Linked DNA regions of Homo sapiens: region 1 is linked to region 2. Evidence: promoter capture Hi-C in 16 types of primary human blood cells and fetal thymus (Javierre and others, 2016). All regions are on one chromosome and are shown on one strand. The core of a region is centred on a gene start or on the middle of the fragment in contact, and the rest is flanking DNA. Distances in the headings are between cores, read along the strand shown.

What was found. Contacts are between HindIII fragments. The CHiCAGO score rates a contact against its expected background, and 5 or more counts as called.
Region 1: the fragment with the promoter of SLC35B3 here is called in contact with the fragment with the promoter of TMEM14B in region 2 in 1 of 17 cell types (non-activated CD4 T cells); the score reaches 5.2 in non-activated CD4 T cells.

Annotation. Positions count from the first base shown.
Region 1 is chr6:8,433,752-8,438,846 of GRCh38, forward strand. SLC35B3 (solute carrier family 35 member B3) reads right to left here and starts at 1,794. Exons shown (of 10, transcript NM_001370479.2): 1 at 1,592-1,794. It overlaps LOC100506207 (a long non-coding RNA gene), which reads left to right and starts at 1,872. Exons shown (of 5, transcript NR_038980.1): 1 at 1,872-2,427; 2 at 4,189-4,280. RefSeq lists enhancers at 1,422-1,561, 1,534-2,075, 1,572-1,631, 1,832-2,001, 1,942-2,021 and 1 more. The HindIII fragment of the contact is 10,856 bases long and covers 1-2,438 here.
Region 2 is chr6:10,746,338-10,751,708 of GRCh38, forward strand. It overlaps TMEM14B (transmembrane protein 14B), which reads left to right and starts at 1,468. Exons shown (of 6, transcript NM_030969.5): 1 at 1,468-1,544; 2 at 2,865-2,931; 3 at 3,285-3,361; 4 at 4,796-4,897. The coding sequence starts at 2,909. It overlaps TMEM14B-DT (TMEM14B divergent transcript), which reads right to left and starts at 1,247. Exons shown (of 2, transcript NR_187231.1): 1 at 1,124-1,247. RefSeq lists an enhancer at 1,028-1,077 and silencers at 1,198-1,427, 1,262-1,482, 1,438-1,497. The HindIII fragment of the contact is 12,296 bases long and covers 1-5,371 here.

The DNA of each region.
Region 1 (5,095 bases), core at 544-3,043, 2.3 Mb before region 2:
CATTTAGAATGCTGTTTTATTAATAAGAACATCACTGGTGAGAAAGTGTGACTGATAAAGACCTCTGATACCTAATAACTGTGATCATTGGGGAATGTCTGCCATATCCCTTCCACTTCAAACATTAATGACTGATACTAACCATCATCTAAAAAAAAAAATGGGCCAAACTCCTTGTGATGCAAGGAGCAAAAATGAAGCATGGAATTAAAATTAGTTTTCAGACTAAATGATCAACATTGTGCTTTGCTTTTGAAGCTCACAGTAATCAGTGAAACTAAAATATATATATATATATTTTAAAAATCACAGGTGTGTATAATTGCCTGAGGCCTCTTCCTAAATTCAACACAGATATTCAACTTCAACTGCTAAAATGGAATAAAAAGGTAGCATTTCCGGCATACAATGTATATTTAAAAATTAAAATTAGTGATAATGTTGAGTTACAATGACCTATTGAAGTCACAATTATTTCAGTTTATTTTTGAGTTTTCCGACCTGAAGGACAAAAGTCCCACACCAAAAAAAGGTAGAATATGAAAAAAAAGTCATTACGGTGTCATTAACCTGAAAAAACGTGATTTTAACTATACTTTGCCACACTCAACGTTACAAATAAAAGAATCTTACCATGCCATTATGCCTTGATTAACTGCGCTCCGGAATCAATCATGGCCTATGGTGTACGATTATAAAACAGAAAAAACAAAGTTCCATCTCATTTCTTTGTACACACATCATTACACAAAGGTGGAGAAACCCTGTGCTAATGTTTGAAGACTATTCTTTTTTTTTTCCAAGAGAAAAAGTTAACACTAGGACTTTATATATTAAGTAATTAAGTAAAAATAACGCTGTCTAAATTATTTTGAAATGCTGCCTCTCTTCCAAGTTCCAAACTATCTCAATTCACTTAGAAAAACGTTTAATCAAAAAACAATTCTAGGCTTCTGATATCCTAATGTAGAAAAAATGCAGATACTCAACACTTAAGATTTTGTTAGCGCACCAAATCATTCCATCTTTTACTTTCAATATTCCTTAAATAATAAAAAGACGGGAGAGATAATTCAGTTGCAAAGACTGGAGGAAACTTGCAGAACTTCTAGTGGAAGTTTATGCCATAAACTTAATAGCCCAGCCAGAACAATCACATTCTACTGCAAGCCAAATGGAGAAAAGAGTACCTTGGAGTGCCCCTATTTAATAAACACGGAACGAGGAAACAGTTAACTGTAAATACAGTCTAGAGGTATCCAGGTGACTGACAGTTCTCCAGAGACCCCGAGAACAGCGTAAAAGACCCCTTGAGGTCACCTCACCCCTGCGAGTCCACGGATTGGGACCTGAGGGAGTTCTCGCCAGCCCGAGGGCGAAAAACGGGCGAGGAGGAACAGATGCTCCTCCCTGGAAACCGCCCGGCCGGTTTCCGCTCTTTCAAAAAAGGGAATCACCCGTTTCTTCCATCCCGACCTCATCCATTCCTCGAACGCTCCTTCTGGATGAGGAAGATGGGCAGTGTCAAGGTTTTCTGGAGGAGAGGAGATCTGGGTCCCAAACACAGGAAAGGCCCCGAAGGCACGCGTACCCCAAGGCCGGTATGTCACCCGGAAGGGTGACGGCAGCCTGCGTGGCGTCTGAGCTAGACGGAGCATCTCCCCCTCCCCTGGTCCGTCGCCATCACCTCCTCTTCCTCCTCCTCCTCGCCCACTCCTGCACTTTCCACCGCGGCGGTCGCCTCCCCGGAAAGCACTCTCAACTCCGGCGCCCGCAGGCCACTTCCGCCTATGTGTCCCTGCGCGCGTGCGCAGACGCGTGGCCCCGCCTCCCGACAGGCCTGTGTGGCCGGTGGCGGGCGGGCCGTTACCTCCCGCGCATGCTCTATGGGGTAGAGACGCTAGGCCGGCACTGCCTAGGTGGGCCGGGCGGTGCGAGGGTCGCCTTTCAGCCTTTACCTCTACCCACTGAAATGGAGTAGGTCGGTGAGCGCCGATCTGCTGGAGAATCTCATTATCCCATCGGCGCTCTGCCTGCTCCTGGCCTCCAAGCCTCTGAAGCCCCTCGGGTTTCAGCTGCCGGCTACCCTCGAGCCCGTGGTGCCCACGAGAGAGGCGACTTTACGTCAGCGGCCCTGGGCTGAGATTTGAGAACGCGACCAAGTGGAGAATGTTGGAGCCAGATTTTAAAATCCTTGTCTTCCTTCTGCGTGCTACTTGATCTAAATGAGATACGGCAAAGTCACAGAACCTGTTTTTATGTTTTTGCCTGATTCATACGGGCTTCTCCGGTGAAGATGGGCCTGAAGTAACGCTTGGGTTGCTTCTGACGTTATAACTCATCCTGTAGCTGCAGCAACCGTGGTCCTTGCAACCTCATAAAAATGTTGCCAGCATTGTTTCGATAGTGCTGCTTAATTCTTGGAAGGTAAATCTCAAAGCTTGAGGACCAGCCATCAAAACTTTTGTAAAAGGTTTTCCCCGCGTTTAGGGCCTCATCCATCACCACTGAGATGTAATAACGTAAAAACCAAGACGGTTTGGGGATGAGCTGTTTTCAGAGAATAATTAAGGAAAATATTACTGTAACGAAGATGGACAATTTTTGAAAGCATGCCTTGAATACCAGAAAGGGATGAATTGGATTAATATGTATGTTAGAATCCAGTCAGTTATGGACAACTTTTAAAATTTTACAGGCACTCTTCAGAAAGGGTAGCATTTGTGTCTTGTATTGGGATCGAGGGTTTGTAAGAAAGCAAGGCACCTACTTTGGTGGTGAGAAAAAAAGGTCTGGGTAGACATTTTCGTTTAATACTTGCCAACGTTGTTAGGCTGGTGTTAGCAACACTTAGGAATGTTGGAATTAAGGCTTAGAGAACTTAAATTTCCTAAAGAGATAGTAAATGACAAAACCTTTCAGTGATGCCATATCGTCACTGTATAATGTGAATTTAGTACTACTGTTAGCCATTTATATGGTGGTTATTTATCAAGTATTTATTAAATGGGCATATGTATAGCTCATATCGTAAACTATGCGTATGAGCTCCCTGTCCTGAAGAAATTAGGGGTTTCCATGAGAAAGTAAATGGCAGTATAAAACAACTTAAGGTACAAGAGGTGTTACAAGGTACCATCTGCTCATGCCTGGACAATTGCAGTAGCCGTGAGCATAGCTTTCTGCATTCCCTTTATTTCTCTACATAGTTGCATTCAGCAGCTGGAGTGATCCCATTAGAACCTGAATATGCCACTCCTCTGTGCAGAACCTTTTAGCGGTTTACCATTTTACTCAGATTAAAGTTCAAAATTCTTACCCTGACTTTTAAGACTGAACTTATTCTTGATGGATCACATCCAAGCTACACTTCAGAGCTTTTCTAATTGCCCCCAAGCACAGCAAGCATCAGTGCTTTGTAGCTGTTGTTCCTTCTGCATGGAACACTGCCCTCTCAGATGTCCACAGAGCTTGCTTCCTCATTTTTTTCCAGTCACTGCTCAAATGTCACCTGGCTCTTCTCTGACTACCATGTCAGTGAAATATTTTTACATGTCAAATGTGAAATGTAGGAGAGACTATCTGGAGTAGTACTTATTATAGAGTAGGTGTTTAATAAATATCGACTCTCTTACAATACTTCCCATTTACTCCTGTGATAACCACGTGGTAAACAAAATTAAAGACTTGCAGCTATGAATTGTTTTTTATTGACTGATTGACTGATTGAGGCAGAGGCTCACTCTGTCGCTCAGGCTGGAGTGCAGTGGCACATCTCAGCTCACTGCAACCTCTGCCTCCTGGGTTCAAGCCATTCTCCTGTCTCAGCCTCCCGAGTAGCTGGGATTATAGGCGCCTGTCACCATGCCCGGCTAATTTTTGTATTTTTAGTAGAGATGGGGTTTCACCTTATTGACCAGGCTGGTCTCGAACTCCTGACCCCAAGTGATCCACCCACCTCAGCCTCCCAAAGTGCTAGGATTATAAGCGTGAGCCACTGCGCCTGGTCCTATGAATTGGTTTTAAATTTTTAAGAAATTAATAATTCTGTAGTATCAGAAACCTTTGGTGTCTTGATTCACATCTTCTGAGCATCACCTCTCATTTCTGACTTGGTTGTGGGGGGCAGTTTCATGCAATCTTACACATTCTTCTCCCTGACAGCTTCTCCTCTCCCACATTTACCAGGCCTCTTTGCTTTCTTCCCTGAGGTTCTTCGGACTTCACACATTCCAGCAGTAGCTCTCTCAGCTCCTGTCCTGCACAGCTTTGAAGTGCTGGTAAGTCAACACATCTGGGGCCCTTCAACCAAGGGGTGACAGTCACTGATGGATAAATGCTCTTGCTTCTTACACTTGAGCAAGATAGTTTTGTAGGCCATTCTGTGTGTTTTTCAAAAAGTCCCAGTGAAATTGGGTTCTGGTTTCTCACAACAGCAACTTCAATAACACATTCTTGTATTATGTCTATATTCTCCCTTCCATTCTCTCATTGTTTCTCACTAGGATCACATCCCAAATTACCTGTCCCCACATAAGTAGTTGTCTCAGGTTTTGAGGGAAACCAAGCTAAGAAATTTGATGTAAGAAGAAAGTCTAGAATGCAGCTCCTCAGAACTCTGGAAGTGGGTTACTTTGCAGTCAGATGACAACAAGGACTTTCTTAGTGATATTAAGGGGAGGACATGTGCATGGCCCAACAATTAAGGCTCTTTCTTACTAAAGCCGATATGACTACTGCCTCTTTGGATGTCCAGCCCATCAGCAGCAAAGATTGATGGTAAATTCCATAAGGAGAGCAATTACACAAAAGTCCTTCCTTCCTGGAGAGAGCCGTGGTTTGTACTTACGGAACTGACACTTCCCTTGATATGACTGGTCTTGTTCATGGTGCCTCTGCCAGTACCATTATATAACAGAGTTACAAACACATGATTGATTGACTTCCTTCCTTCCTTCCTTCCTTCCTTTCTTTCTTTCTTTTTTCTTTCTTTCTTTCTTTCTTTCTTTCTTTCTTTCTTTCTTTCTTTCTTTCCTTCTTTTTTTCTTTCTTTTTCTTTCTTCCTTCCTTCCTTTTTCTTTTTCTTTCTTTCTCT
Region 2 (5,371 bases), core at 218-2,717:
AGCTAAGCTATCTCCTAACAACGTTAATGCCAACTAGAAATATTCCCAAACACAAATCATTGATTGTTTTACTCTGGTACTAATTGAAATAGAGCAGAAACCAATTTCTTTAATTTATTTTATGACATGTTTTGATGGACTTTACCTACACAGAAGAGCTATGTGTTCTGGTTGAGGAACGACACTGCAAGAAGCAGCATATGGTAGAATTAAGGACGCAGGCTTTGACATTAGACCTTACTTTAAATAATAGCTCTACCAGTGACCAGGACTGTAGGTAATTTAATTCTCTGAGGTTCAGCCTCTTCAAGTATAAGGTGGGGAAGGGCTCGAGGATCATGGTGGATGATCCTAATTAAGGTTTGAGGCTTGCACCTGCATAGGGAAGAATGAGTCCCTAAAGCCATTCCCTGCTGGTTAAGACAAGTCTCATTAATTGTTCAGGAAAGTCTTCAATTAAATTGAAGGTCTGGCATACTGCAATTCCTGCAAGTTCTTAGTTATTATCAGCTCTGGCTGGTTAGAAGCAGCTATGATAAACACGGGCTTCAATTTAGCTATCTGGAAGGTAGGTGCTGCTGCAAGTGGAAAGTTTGTCTTTAAGAATATGCGCTGCAATTTGCTTTATTCACTGATGATTATATTGATCGGAGTTGTCTATGTTGATACTTGTAGGGGATGAAGGAGAGGGAGAAGTCAACGATGACAGCAAATTTTAGTGTAGAGCAACTGAGCGAATGGTGGTGCAGGAAACACAGAAGAGGAGCGGCTCGGAAGTGGGAATGGAGATAACATCATACTGTGGACATTCGGAATCCACAGAGCTGCGTGGAAATCAGATTTAACTTGCTCTCTCTCCCCATTTAAGATGCTTCTCAAGTAGCCTCACTCCCTAAAACAAACGGATATTTGGCATTGCGCCACATTATTCTGCAGCTGCCATATTTTCTTGCAGGTGGAAGGCAGGCCCTTCCTGGTGTAAACAAACAAGATCGGGCCAGAGTGACAATCCTCCCTGATGGCCCGCACCTGGTTTATACCCTCTATTAATGGGGTCCTTCAAAATCATCAGATGCCCTCCTCCCGCAGCGGTGGCCTCCACCTCTGGCCTGGCCCAGCTTACGTGGTCCAGCTTGTGCAAGATCCAATTCCAACTCCGGGTTTCCGGCTTTTGGCCACTCAGGATTGGACCTGGGACTGGAGCTGGTCGGCCCTGCAGGTGCTGGGCCTGGGGACTGAGGAAGCACAGAGATTCCCCGCCCGGTTCCCCGCCAACGGCGCTAGCCGCGATGCCCCGCCTCACTCCCCGCCCCCGGGATGCAGGGCGCGTGCTGGTAATCCGCGGCTCAAGCCCCGCCCCCACTGTCCCCATTCTCCGCTCACCTCTCTCCAAGGACACTGCGCACGCGCCACGACGTCCCGCCTTTCTCCCCGCCCTGCCGCGGCCCCGGGGCGCAGCGCGCACGCAATCGCGTTTCCGGAGAGACCTGGCTGCTGTGTCCCGCGGCTTGCGCTCCGTAGTGGACTCCGCGGGCCTTCGGCAGGTCGGTGCAGGTCTTTGGAGAGTATTGTTTTTATTTTCTGCCACTTTTAACTTTTAGGGATTATTTAGGAGTTTCACGGCCGTCTGCTTTTCGTCCCCCCGATTCAGCGGGCCTTTATGCCGTGTGGTCGGTGCTTTTCTCCTTGGGTATTTTCTGCTTGTCTTAAAAGAGGCTGTGGATGCTCGGAGCACCTGAGCTCCTGAGGCAAAGGCTTACCCTTGTAGCATAGTGTTGCCTCGTTTCCTGGTGGTTTTGTTGCTCCAGCTCTTTAAAAGCCTCCCTTACTCAGTGCCGCCTCGAGTTAAGAACTGTGGGCAAGATCCCAAGCCCGCTGCCCTTCCCCGTTTTATGGGAAATTAATTCTTTCTTTTTTTGGGGGGTGGGGAGGGGTTCTCGCTGTGTCGCCCAGCCTGGAGTGCAGTAGCCTGAATATGTCTTATTGCAGCCTCTGCCTCCTGGGCTCAAGCCATCCTCCCACCTCAGCCTCCCAAGTAGCTGGGATTACAGGTGCATGCCATCATGCCCGATTTGTGTGTGTGTGTGTGTGTTTTAATAGAATATGGGTTTCACCATGTTGACCAAGCTGTTCTCGAACTCCTAACCTCAGGTAATCCGCCTGCCTGGGCCTCCCAAAGTACTGGGATTACAGGCGTGAGCCACTTTGCCTGGCCTAATTCTTTAAACAGAATAAACGGCGTATGCATTGCTTTCCATCTTGTTAGGTTCACTGCATACAGAATACTTTTCTGTAAGAAAATAGGAGCTGTTTTTCCAAGGGTGCAATGTCACATGTGATTCTGACTTGAGTTTCCGTGTATTTTACCCTCCCCTTCTGCCCTCCTAACGAGAACTGTGAGTTGGATGCAGAAGTTTCTAAAAAAAAAAATTGAGTATTGAAATTGGCTGTTGCATCAGTGAAGAAAAGCAACATCCCTACCACCCCTCAAAAGAGACATTAAAGTAGTTGGATTAAGGGCACGGGAGTATTTGCTTTCCGATTTAGTGATAATGTGAGTGCTTAATGAAATGACTAACACATTCCCTGATTATAGAGCTGGTCAGTGGATCTTGCTGAGTTTCCTGTGGACCTATGTGAAATGATCGGCATCTGTTCAGGGTTTACTAGGTGCTAAGCACCTTTACATGTGACATCCATTGAATGCTCACAACACCCCCAGGAAATTGGTACCAGTGTTATCCTCATGGTACAGTGAAGGATACTGAGACTTAGGTTGCATAGCCTGCAGGTTGGACACACTTCTTTCTGACTGCTGGGGAGCTGTGCTTTTAACCACTGCTGATCCGGCTTGTTTTCCCCAGATGCAGGCCTGGGGTAGTCTCCTTTCTGGACTGAGAAGAGAAGAATGGAGAAGCCCCTCTTCCCATTGTGAGTAGACAGTAAATGGTTAGAGAGTAGCCAGGAGCTTCTGGAAACCAGAGTTCCTTTCCTCAGCTGAAAAGAACCCTAAGAGTAGACTGCCTGGGATGGCGTGCGGGATGGGAGGATCACTGGACCTGTGGGCCAGAAACTTGGGTTTGAGTCCCAGCTCTAGCTTTGCTTAGTTGTGTGACTCTCAGAAAGTCATCCAACCTCTGTGGTGCTTATTTTCAGTGATAGTACCTGTGGGCACATAGGACCTGTGGGGAATGATTACCTTTTAGCCCCATCCTATGACAATATGGTTTGTTTTTAAATCCAGGTTAGCACTGACTTCTCACTGACTTCTCTTGTGTTTTCAGAGTGCCTTTGCATTGGTTTGGCTTTGGCTACACAGCACTGGTTGTTTCTGGTGGGATCGTTGGCTATGTAAAAACAGGTAGGGTTTTGTTGTTACTTAGCCTCTTAACATCTTCACGTTGTTCCAGTGAAATGTGAGTGCCTGTGTCCCTGAGAAGCAATCTCGTTTGACTCAGCTTTGCTGTAGGTCCCCAAGCTGGAGTGCAGGCTTCCTTGTCAGTCTTGCAGCTCCTGCCCTTGCCTTTTGCTTATCTGGTGAAGCTGAGCCAGGCCTCTTGTGGAATTACTTATTTTTGCCTCTTTATCTAAAGGTAGGCAGGGGTGGTTGTAGTTTGTTATTATCATTGACTGCCATTCATCAGCCATGACCCCCAAGTGCCATCTCTGGGCTTAAGTAGGAGTCAACCTCTGGCCTACACAGACTGGTATTTTGAAGTTTCCTCATTAGGCCAGGCAGGGGTGTGTCAGTGGCTGTGCTTGTTTTTGCCCCCTAGTCCTTGCCTGCATTCCCACCCCAATCCCTGCACCAGACTTCTTATTCTCCTGATCTTCTATTTTTTTTTTAACTGCCTGGCCCTATTTCCTTCTGCTTTTGTGATTTGCTGGAGGTCCTGCCTGTACACAATTCCAGCCCTTCATGGTTGATGAGGCCTGATTAGAAAGTGTTGTACTTGAGCGAGTTAGAGAAAACGCCACACTTTGAGACGAATTAAGAGTCTGTTTATTTAGCTGGGGCCTAAAAGACGGCTAACACTCAAAGTTCTCTCGGCCTTGAAGAAGGGGCTAGATTTTCTTTTATACTTTGGTTTAGAATGGGGTGGGGGGGGGGTCTAGTTAAAACAATTTTACTGAAGTAAAGTAGGCAAAAAAGTTAAAAGGATAAATGGTTACAGGAAAGTAAACAGTTCCAGGTGCAGGGGCTTTAAGACTATTACAAGGTGATGGACGCGGGGCTTTGGGCATTATCAATCGGACGAATTCCTGGGAACTGCGGATATAGCTCGCCACAGTATCTTATCAGTTAATTGCATTCTTGGATGTGCTGGGAGTCAGCTTGCACAAGTTAAGTCCTTGAGGACGGGGCTGCCAGTGAAAGAGCCAAGATGGAGTCTGTCTGGCTCTCTTAGCTAAGGAAGAGTCAATTCAGGTGGAAACAAGGCTAGGTGATTAAAGGAAAGGGAGAGTCTAAAAACAGGGTTAGTAAAAACAAGGTTAGGCATTACAAAAGAAGGCCTAGTCATAGTTCTGTCTAAGGAGGGAAGATGGCCTTCTTTCCTTTCCTTAGATGGAAGTGCCCTGCCTATTAGAGGAGAGAAAAATGGGGTGGGAAGACCCTGACTTCTCTGAGAAGATAGCACACTCTCCTTAACGCCTTCCTGCTTGAGTCCACCTTGGCTGTGAGCTGTGTTGAGAGTTCTTTGTGCTGTCCTTTGTAGGGCAGGAGGTCTGGTGGATTCCGTTAGTGAAATAAGTGCCTGACATTACAATGCAAGCTGCGTTTGCTTCCTTCTAGGCAGCGTGCCGTCCCTGGCTGCAGGGCTGCTCTTCGGCAGTCTAGCCGGCCTGGGTGCTTACCAGCTGTATCAGGATCCAAGGAACGTTTGGGGTTTCCTAGGTATGTCTGCTTCAGCGTCTCCTTAGGGCAATCATGTATCTGGAATATTCTTTTCCAAAAGACCCTGGTTTGGTGGGATGGAGCGAGTTCTTCCCACTTAATTTACGACAGTTTCACTGCTTCTCCAAGTCCAAGTCCTCAAAGTTTTAAAATAGGAGAAGGGTGGTGGGAATTGTCCTGGTTCCTGTTTATTGTTTATGTAGATAATATGGAAAGATTTCCATACCTTGTGAATTGTGTGACTCTCAGAAAGTCATCCATCCTCTGTGGGCCTTATTTTCAGTGTTTACCCAGTAGAATTAGTATCAAACTTGTATTACCCATATTTACCCAGTAAAGTCAGCATTAAACTTGTATAAGACAAATATGTGTCAACCGTTGAGGTTTTCCGCTGAAGACCATTGGCCTCAGTATCACTAAAATATCACGTATCTGGGTTAGGTTTGCAGCTGCGTTACGTTTTTCACATTTGAA